Regions from separate parts of the Homo sapiens genome. Here all the other regions are linked to region 2. The links are contacts of gene promoters, found by promoter capture Hi-C in blood cells and fetal thymus (Javierre and others, 2016). All regions are on one chromosome and are shown on one strand. The core of a region is centred on a gene start or on the middle of the fragment in contact, and the rest is flanking DNA. Distances in the headings are between cores, read along the strand shown. Region 1 overlaps LOC124903356 (a long non-coding RNA gene). Region 2 holds the start of KCNK13 (potassium two pore domain channel subfamily K member 13). Region 3 has its middle 19 kb from the start of TRA-AGC15-1.

Evidence for each region. The method cuts DNA at HindIII sites, captures the fragments that hold promoters and counts their contacts. A CHiCAGO score of 5 or more calls a contact.
Region 1: a contact is called between a fragment that was not itself captured here and the fragment with the promoter of KCNK13 in region 2, in 1 of 17 cell types (naive CD8 T cells). The highest score is 6.2, in naive CD8 T cells.
Region 3: a fragment that was not itself captured here is called in contact with the fragment with the promoter of KCNK13 in region 2 in 5 of 17 cell types (non-activated CD4 T cells, total B cells, total CD8 T cells and 2 more); the score reaches 7.5 in non-activated CD4 T cells.

The regions. Positions count from the first base shown.
Region 1 is chr14:89,019,232-89,021,931 of GRCh38, reverse strand. The region is part of intron 1 of LOC124903356 (a long non-coding RNA gene); the gene reads right to left. Among named protein-coding and RNA genes, the nearest start is that of TRA-AGC15-1, 41 kb to the right of the region's middle. The HindIII fragment of the contact is 4,022 bases long and covers 1-2,700 here.
Region 2 is chr14:90,060,655-90,063,368 of GRCh38, reverse strand. KCNK13 (potassium two pore domain channel subfamily K member 13) reads right to left here and starts at 1,375. Exons shown (of 2, transcript NM_022054.4): 1 at 830-1,375. The coding sequence starts at 1,163. LOC124903406 reads right to left here. Exons shown (of 3, transcript XM_047432048.1): 2 at 2,458-2,714; 3 at 1,636-2,007. The coding sequence ends at 1,743. RefSeq lists enhancers at 1,433-1,932, 1,933-2,434 and a silencer at 2,683-2,714. The HindIII fragment of the contact is 16,748 bases long and covers 1-2,714 here.
Region 3 is chr14:88,997,141-88,999,847 of GRCh38, reverse strand. No RefSeq gene overlaps it. Among named protein-coding and RNA genes, the nearest start is that of TRA-AGC15-1, 19 kb to the right of the region's middle. The HindIII fragment of the contact is 218 bases long and covers 1,159-1,376 here.

The DNA.
Region 1 (2,700 bases), core at 99-2,598, 1.0 Mb after region 2:
TTTGAGACCAGCTTGGGCAATATAATGAAACCCCACTTCTTTTTTTTTTATACTTTAAGTTCTAGGGTACATGTGCACAACATGCAGCTTTGTTACATATGTATACATGTGCCATGTTGGTGTGCTGCACCCATTAACTCATCGTTTACATTAGGTATATCTCCTAATGCTATCCCTCCCCACTCCCCCCACTCCACGACAGGCCCCAGTGTGTGATGTTCCCCTTCCTGTGTCCAAGTGTTCCCATTGTTCAATTCCCACCTATGAGTGAGAACATGCGGTGTTTGGTTTTCTGTCCTTGTGATAGTTTGCTCAGAGTGATGGGTGAAACCCCATTTCTACAAAAAAATACAAAAATATTGCCAGGTGTGGTGGTGTGCACCTGTGGTCCTAGCTACTTAGGAGGCTAAGTGGGGAGGATCACTTAAGCCCAGTAGGTGGAGGTTGCAGTGAGCTGAGATTGAGCCATTGCACTCCAGCCAGGGAGACAGAGTGAGACCCTGTCTCAAAGAAAAAAAAAATTACTCCTTGACTACCTAGGCAAAATAAAAACCTGTGAAACACTTACAAAACAATTGAGTTCAGTATATGTATGTCTTATGCCCAAGTTCAAATGCCCATGAGTAGAAATTAGAGGAAAATTATGGTCAAGATGAGAAAAAACCATCCCCCAAAAGGCAAAGAAAGAATCTGATCTGATTGCCATGAAAATTCAACTCTTGATCTCCCAGGACTTGATTATCCATGGTCATAGGAATCAGCCCTTGAATAGGACAGTTCAACTGGGGTCTAAGTGGAAGGCCAGCTGGAGTAAAAGGTGTGTGGGAAAGGGGTGCTCCTCTGCTCTTAGATGTCCCAAAGCCAGTGACTTGGCAGATCTTAGGTGTTCCTTGCTTGGGGCTAATGCTAAAATTAGTGAAGTGGCCCCAAGACTTTTTACTCCAAGCAAAACACTGGAGAGATTGTTAGGAAATTACACTGTTATTTCTACTGAAGAAGCATTTGACAAAATTCAACATCCTTTTATGATAAAAATGCTAAAAAAAAAAAAAAAAAACTAGGGATAGGAAGGAACTTTCTCAACCCTTTAAAAGATATCTATGAAAACCCCACAGCTAACATCATACGTAATAGTGAAAGACTGCTTTCCCCTTAAGACCAGGAACAGGAGAGGGATGTCCACTTTTGCCACTCCTATTCAACATTGTATTTGAGTTCTAGCCAGGGCAATTAGGTAAGAAAAAGAAATAAAAGGTATCCAGATTGGAAACAAAGAAGAAACATATGTAATGACCTTGTATACAGATAATCCTAAGGAATCCACTAAAAATTTATTAGAACAAACAAGTTCAGCAAAGTTTCAGAGTACAAAATCAATATACAAAAATCAATTGTATTTCCATATACTAGCATTGAACAATGAAAATAAAATTGAGAAAACAATTCCATTTCAATAGTGTAAAAAGGAATAAAATACTCAAAAATAAATGAAAGAAGTAGGTTGGGCAAGGTGGCTCACGCCTGTAATCCCAGCACTTTGGGAGGCTGAGGTGGGTGGATCACTTGAGGCCAGGAGTTCGAGACCAGCCTGGCCAACATGGCAAAACTCTGTCTCTACTAAAAAGACAAAAATTAGCAAGGTGTGGTAGCACACACCTGTAGTCCCAGCTACTCAGGAAGCTGAGGTGGGAGGATCGCTTGAACCCAGGAGGCAGAGGTTGCCATGAGCCGAGATGGCACCACTGCACTCCAGCCTGGGAGACAGAGTAAGACACTGTCTCAAAAAAAAAAAAAAAAAAAAAAAAAAAAAAAAAAAAAAAAAAAAGCAAACCTTATATCCAAAAGACTAAAAATCTAAAAATCATTGTTGGAAGAAATTGAAGGTCTAAATAAATAGAAGAATATCCCATGTTCATGGATTAGAAGAGTTAATATTACTCAGATAGCAATATTCCCTAAACTGATCTACAGATTGAACACATTCCCTATTAAAATCTCAGATGTCTTTTTGCAGATATTGACAAGCTGATACTAAAATTCTTAAGGAAGTGTAAGGGACTGAGAACAGCCAACACAATCTTGAAAAAGAAGAACGACATTGGAGGACTCACATTCTCTGATTTTAGAGCTAACTACAATTCTGCAGTGATCAAGAACATGTGGTACTGTCTATATGAGGACGGACAGACAGATCAGTGGAATGGAATTGAGGGTCCAGAAATAAACTCTCACATGCATGGTCAATTGATTTTCAAGATGAGTGCCTAGAAAATTCAATGGGGAAAGAGTATTCTTTTCAACGAATAGTGCTGGGACAACTGGAAGTCCACATGCAAAAGAATGAATCTGGACCCTTGCCTCACATTACATATAAACATGAACTCAAAATGGATCACAGACCTAACTGTGAGAAATAAAACTTTAATCTTAGAAGGCAAACCACTGTGATTTTTATTTTAAAATGATTCCTTAATTATGATACCAAAAGCACAGCAACAAACAGAAAAGGAGATTGTTTGGGCTTTGTCAAAATTAATATTCATGATTAAAAGGATACCATCAAGAAAGTGTAAAGACAACACACAGAATGGGAGAAAATATTTACAAATAATATATCAGTAAGGCACTTGTGTCTAAAATATATTTTAAAAACTCTTACAACTAAGTAATAAAAAGACAATTCAACTTAAAAATGGGCAA
Region 2 (2,714 bases), core at 126-2,625:
AGCTGTGCTACATCTTTGCTAAAAAATTCTCAATGGCTCCCAGGTGCCTCTAGGTAAATTCCAGCTCCTCAGTCTGTCAGTGAAGGTCCTACCCCCGCCTCCATCCCATTAGCCAGCAGACCTTCCTAGTCTTCCTTCCACCACTCCAACCAGCTCATGGGGCCCCTGAGTGCGATTCTCTCCTACTCTAGAGTGCAACCGCGCTTTCAGTTCCCAAACCCAAGTTATGCCTAACACGAATTGATTCAGCCCAAAGGTCACTTCCCTGGTTCTTCCTGGTGGAAAATTTTCCATCTTTTGAACCGTCATTGGCACTTTTGCTTCCTCACTTTCAGTCTGCTGTTCTGATTTTTTCTCGGTAAGTGTGAAGTCGAGGGCAGAATCTTTTAAAATCTGCACTTCCCCTCTGACTGACTCAGTAAATGTTTAGTTTCCTGTCCCTATCTGTAAAAGCCTTCTTCCCCATGAACTCAAGCCGTGTCTCCTTCATTAGACTGAAAATCTCCCAGAGCAGAGCGTCTCCAATTTAAGGATCATTCCAATCCTTTGGGGACTTTGTTAACATGCAGATTCTGACTCGGCAGGTCTGCAGAGGGGACTGAGACTGCATTTCTAACAAGCTGCCAGGTGACGCTGAAGCTGCCGGTGCCTGGACCACATTAGAGCAGCGGGGAGGCAATACCACCTGTTGATCAGGCGACAGCTCATGTCAGTGGAGTCTGGCTGGGCGCCCAGATGGATGAATGAAAGGATGAGAGGGTCGGTCCTGCCCCCCGGAGGAAGTGGAGGCCGCCCGGAGGTTGTCAGCGAGTCCGGCCAGCACACTTACCTATGGTGGAAACGACGGTGCCCACGAAGTAGAAGGCGCCGGTGAAGTCCCAGCGCGGGCGGACGTTGTCCACGCGGATGCCGGCCCGAGTGGCCTCCTCGTAGTGGCGGAGGAAGCCGCGCAGCTCGTCGCGGCTCAGGTTGTGGCCGCGGCTGAAGTTGGCCAGGCGCTCCTCCCAGCGCTGCTTGGCCTGGCGCTCGTGCGCCAGCTCCAGCGCGGAGAAGACGGCGGCGCCGCCCAGCAGGTAGAGCACGATGAGCGCGGCCAGCAGCAGAAAGCGCGCGTTGTCCTCGTTCAGGTGGCCCGGGCCCCAGCTGAAACCCCGGCCAGCCATGGCCGGGCCCCCGGGGGCAGCCCCCAGGCCCACGGCACCGGGCGTCGGCGGAGTCTCGCCCACACCCCCGGGAAATAAGGGCCCCGGCGCTCAGCCAGCTCCCGGGCGCCCCACCGCCGGCTCGCCCATGACCGCCGGGCTCTCCCGCAGGCCGCGAGGCTCCCCCGGCCGCCGCCTCGGTAGCTCCTGTGGCGCCAGCTCCCCACGTCCTCCTTGACTCCTAGTTTCAAATCCGCTTTGTCGCCGCCGTTCCCCTCCACTCCCCCTGCTCTCCTCGGAGTTCTCCTTAACGCTGAAGGTCCCGGGGAACGGGCGCAGAGTTCACGTCTGCTTGGCGCTGGGATGCGGGCGCAGTTTCCACCCCGGCTCCCTGTCCGGCTCAGATAGGGGAGGGGGCGTGGCGCGTCTTCAGGGCAAGCTCGAGCCAACTCGAGTTTCCCGCAAAGAGACGGTCGCGGGGCGGGGCGGGGCGGGGCGGGGCGGCGGGGGGGGGGCGCGGTCCGGAGGTCTGCGGGTAAGCAGAGCGCCGGGGTCCTGGGTCCTGGTTCCTTTGACTATCGCTTCGCAGGCCGCCGACGGCTAGGACACGGGTGTCAGTCTGCTGGCTTTGTAGGTGCCTCCCCAGGTAGATCGACGATGGTGCCTCCTAGTTGTGGTCGTGGTGTCGCGCTGAGCCTGTGGCCTCCCGAGTCTCCGAATCGGCTGCCGGGGCTTAGGGATGGAGGGGGTCCAGGGCGGGCGCACGGAGAGAGGGGCTGTGCTGAGCGGCGTCCGAGGGCTGCGGCGTCCGAGGGCTCCGACCTCCGGCCGGGCCCCAACGCTGCGCATCCGTTGGGCGGACGGGCTGGAGAGAGGAGACCAGAAAGGGAGGTTGGAACAGGGAGCAAAGGAAGTTAGGGGCTTCTCCCCCGGGCAGCCTCCCTCGCCTTGACCATGCCAGAGCGCCCTTGGTCTCTGGATCCTGCGCGGGGGCGTCCTCTGCGCCTACTAGTAGGCTCCGCCCGGACCAAGCGCGCACCGCGAGCCAGCCCCGCTTCCGGAGAGGAGGCCAAACACTGGGGGCTGGAAGGGCTCCGCGGCCAGGAGACCTTGACCTTGGAGCGTTCCATCTCTTCCCCCCGGGCTTGGCTGCCTAGTGCGTTCCAGAGTTTTGCCTGGACGCGGGGTCCGCGCAGAAGGCATCCCCCACCTCATGCAGAACAGTAGCAAGGCTCTCCAGCAAACCGCCGGGGCCCCCTCCCCGAGACCCCGCCTTGTAGCGGGCGCTGGCGCCGCTGCCGCGCTCAGATCTCACCTTCCGGGGAGCGCCCTCTCCGCGCCGCTCCGTCGGGACTGTTCCCGGGCCTCCTGGCAGCCGCGGCCCTGCCCTGCCAGCCGGCGCGCGGAGCACAGGTCCGCACCGCGCTCTGCCTTCTCAGGCGGGCGCGCTCCGACGCTGCAACAGGTAGAGCCGTGCGGCTGCCAGCTGCGGCGACTCCACCCTGTCGCCCGCCTCCTTGCGCGCGGGCCCGCCTCCTGCGCTGGTCTCCGCGGGTAGACGCTCGGCGTTCG
Region 3 (2,707 bases), core at 18-2,517, 1.1 Mb after region 2:
GGAGATAAGGTGGCCAACCAAACCACATGGACTAAGAATTGGGGTGGGGTGGGGGTGGGCTTTCCATACAAAAATGGAGGCTTTCATTAAAAAAAAAAGGAATAAATGCTGGGGAGTAAAATTAAAAAGTCCCCTAATGGGCCACAGACAATGAGGCAGTGGGACATTTCAAGGGCAGTGAAAGGCAGGTCAGCACCTGGGGGAAGTCACGCCAGCATGGTTCTGGAGTCAAGTTCAAATCTGCCCGCTACCACTATGGCAAAGAGGCTTCCTGATCACCAAAAAAAAAGGTGCTTCCCCTTCCATTATAGAGCATTTGTGACAGTCATGAAGGTGTACCACTCATATCACCTTTCAAGAAATAACTGCCATTCAGCTTCAAGGACTACAAGTAGCTTTAGAGCTGAAGCCCTCTTCTAGGGCACCCCTCAGGCAATGACCGAGCATGGCGGGATAGTGGAGCCGGCCATCTCTGCCCAGTGCAGGACTGCTCCAGTGGATAATCTTTACTCTAGATCTCCCTTTGAGTAGGCTGAGGCTGTCAATTCTGCCTTGCAATCTGAGGCTTGATCCCTGAATCACTGTGTGGAAGGGCTCTCACTGACCAGGAGCTTCCACCTGGGACTGTTAGGTAAGCGAAAGAGTATTTTTTCGTTTGTGGTAGTGTTTTTCTGCATGACAGTCATTTTTCCTTATAATTCTTACTCTTGTAAATACAGATATAAAAAATGAAAATAGTATAATCATCAGAAGTGGCAACAAAAAAAGAGCTTGGCTACCTTCAAATGACTACCCTTAACAAAACCACTGAAAAACCCTGGAAACCTAGCCACGTTCAGTGCTTTAAGTAACATTTTTATAGACATGTATCACATATGTGGAAAGGTGCACACAACATAAATGCACAAGATCAAGGAATTATTACAAAACAAAGCACTCTGTACTCACCACCCCAGGTCAAGAAAGAGAACATTTTCCTCACCCTAGAAGTCCTCTCCTCCCCATGCCACCCCTACTCTCTCAAAATTCTCTGCAAGCTTCAGATTCTAAGGTTAATAGAGGAAGCAGGTGTGTCCAGTTGCTTTTGTCAATGGACTGATAAATTGGCAAAAGTAGCAAGAAACTTCCTTTTAATGGTTTGCTTGTTTGCTTTAAGCTTAAAGATAAATTTTTATCTTTAAGATGTTTTTAAATCCCAGAATATTTTTAAGGTACTGGATAGAGACGGGGGGAAAAGGCAGAAGTTAAATTTTGTTCTATCCTCGCTCTGGAGTCTGATCTTGATAAGCAAAGAATGTAATTAAAATGGATTACAGACTATTAAACACCAACAAGAACAAAATGATGGCAGTGTGTGCAAGCCAGTAATTAAAGCTTTAGAAGAGGAAAAAGTCACCATCACTTATAATGTTTATTTATCAAGGTTAGTAACAAATATTGACATGAAAGCTTTTTTCTTCTATTTTTTTCTTAGCATCAGGCTGTCAGCAATTAGTGGGGCATATTCCAGAATCAATATGGCCTCAGGTTTGAAACAGTAAGATCCATACATTTCTAAATTAGTTGGCATGACAGCAGACTGGCTCCAGAGAGCAGACCTGCTTGCAACATCATTCAATTAGAGCTTATTAGAAGACAAAGAGAAACAAGTCAGGAACAGCATCTCTTAAAATTGCTTTTAACCCAAAGATATTCTTAAGATAAACATGAGGGAGAGACTTCTTAATGGCAAAGGATTTTATGTTTATCTTTATCATGAAAAACTTTAATCCATAAAGTAGAATGTTCCTTAAAATATGTGATTAAAAGCGTGGGCTCTGCAGTTACACTGCCTGGATTCAAGTCAATTCCCACTTTCTAACTGGGTGACTTTGGGCACATTGTTCAACCTTTCTGCCTCTCAGTTTCTTTATCTGCAAGATGAGAATAACAATCTTATTTACATTATAGGGTACTACAAAGAGTAAATGAGATAATATATGCAAAGGTCCTGGCATGCAGTAAGAACTCACAAGGTGTTAGCTGTTGCATTAGTCAGGATAGGCTAAGTATGATGCAGTGACGTGTGGACCCCCAACTCCCAGTGGCTTTACTCAATGAACTGAATTTCTCAGTCAAGCTATGCCCCCACCATGGGTCAATAGGGTGAGGGGTAGAAGAGAGCTGTGCTTCACATGGCCTCAAGGAACCACCACTTCGTAGCTATACCAAGAGACCTACCCATACAGCAGAAGGGGAAGAGAGCCCAGAGAAACCTACCCAGGCTTCTCATTGCCACCACCCAGAAGTGACAAACCTGGCTTCCAACATGTCTCACCATGCAGAACTAGTCTACTGAGCACCCGGGAAATGTAAGAGGCAGGTAGAATGTTTAGTGAGCATGTTATCCCCACTACATGTATCAACATCATCATCATCATCATCAATGTTATAGGCTCTGTGATGGTTTTTACTGCATGAAATTCAGAAAATACATTTTGACCTGTGATACGACTGAATCTCAGGAAAATTCAATCTTTCAACAGCTATTTATTGAATAACTATGGGTGAAGCAACACTGTTCTAAGTGTGGGACACAGAGGTGACTTGACCAGATAAGGATCCTTCTCCCATGAACCTCACAGTACAAAACAATATAACCAAACTGTTACATTGCTCCATCCTTGCTCAGAATAGAACAGATATGTTAACCGATAAAATCCAGTAA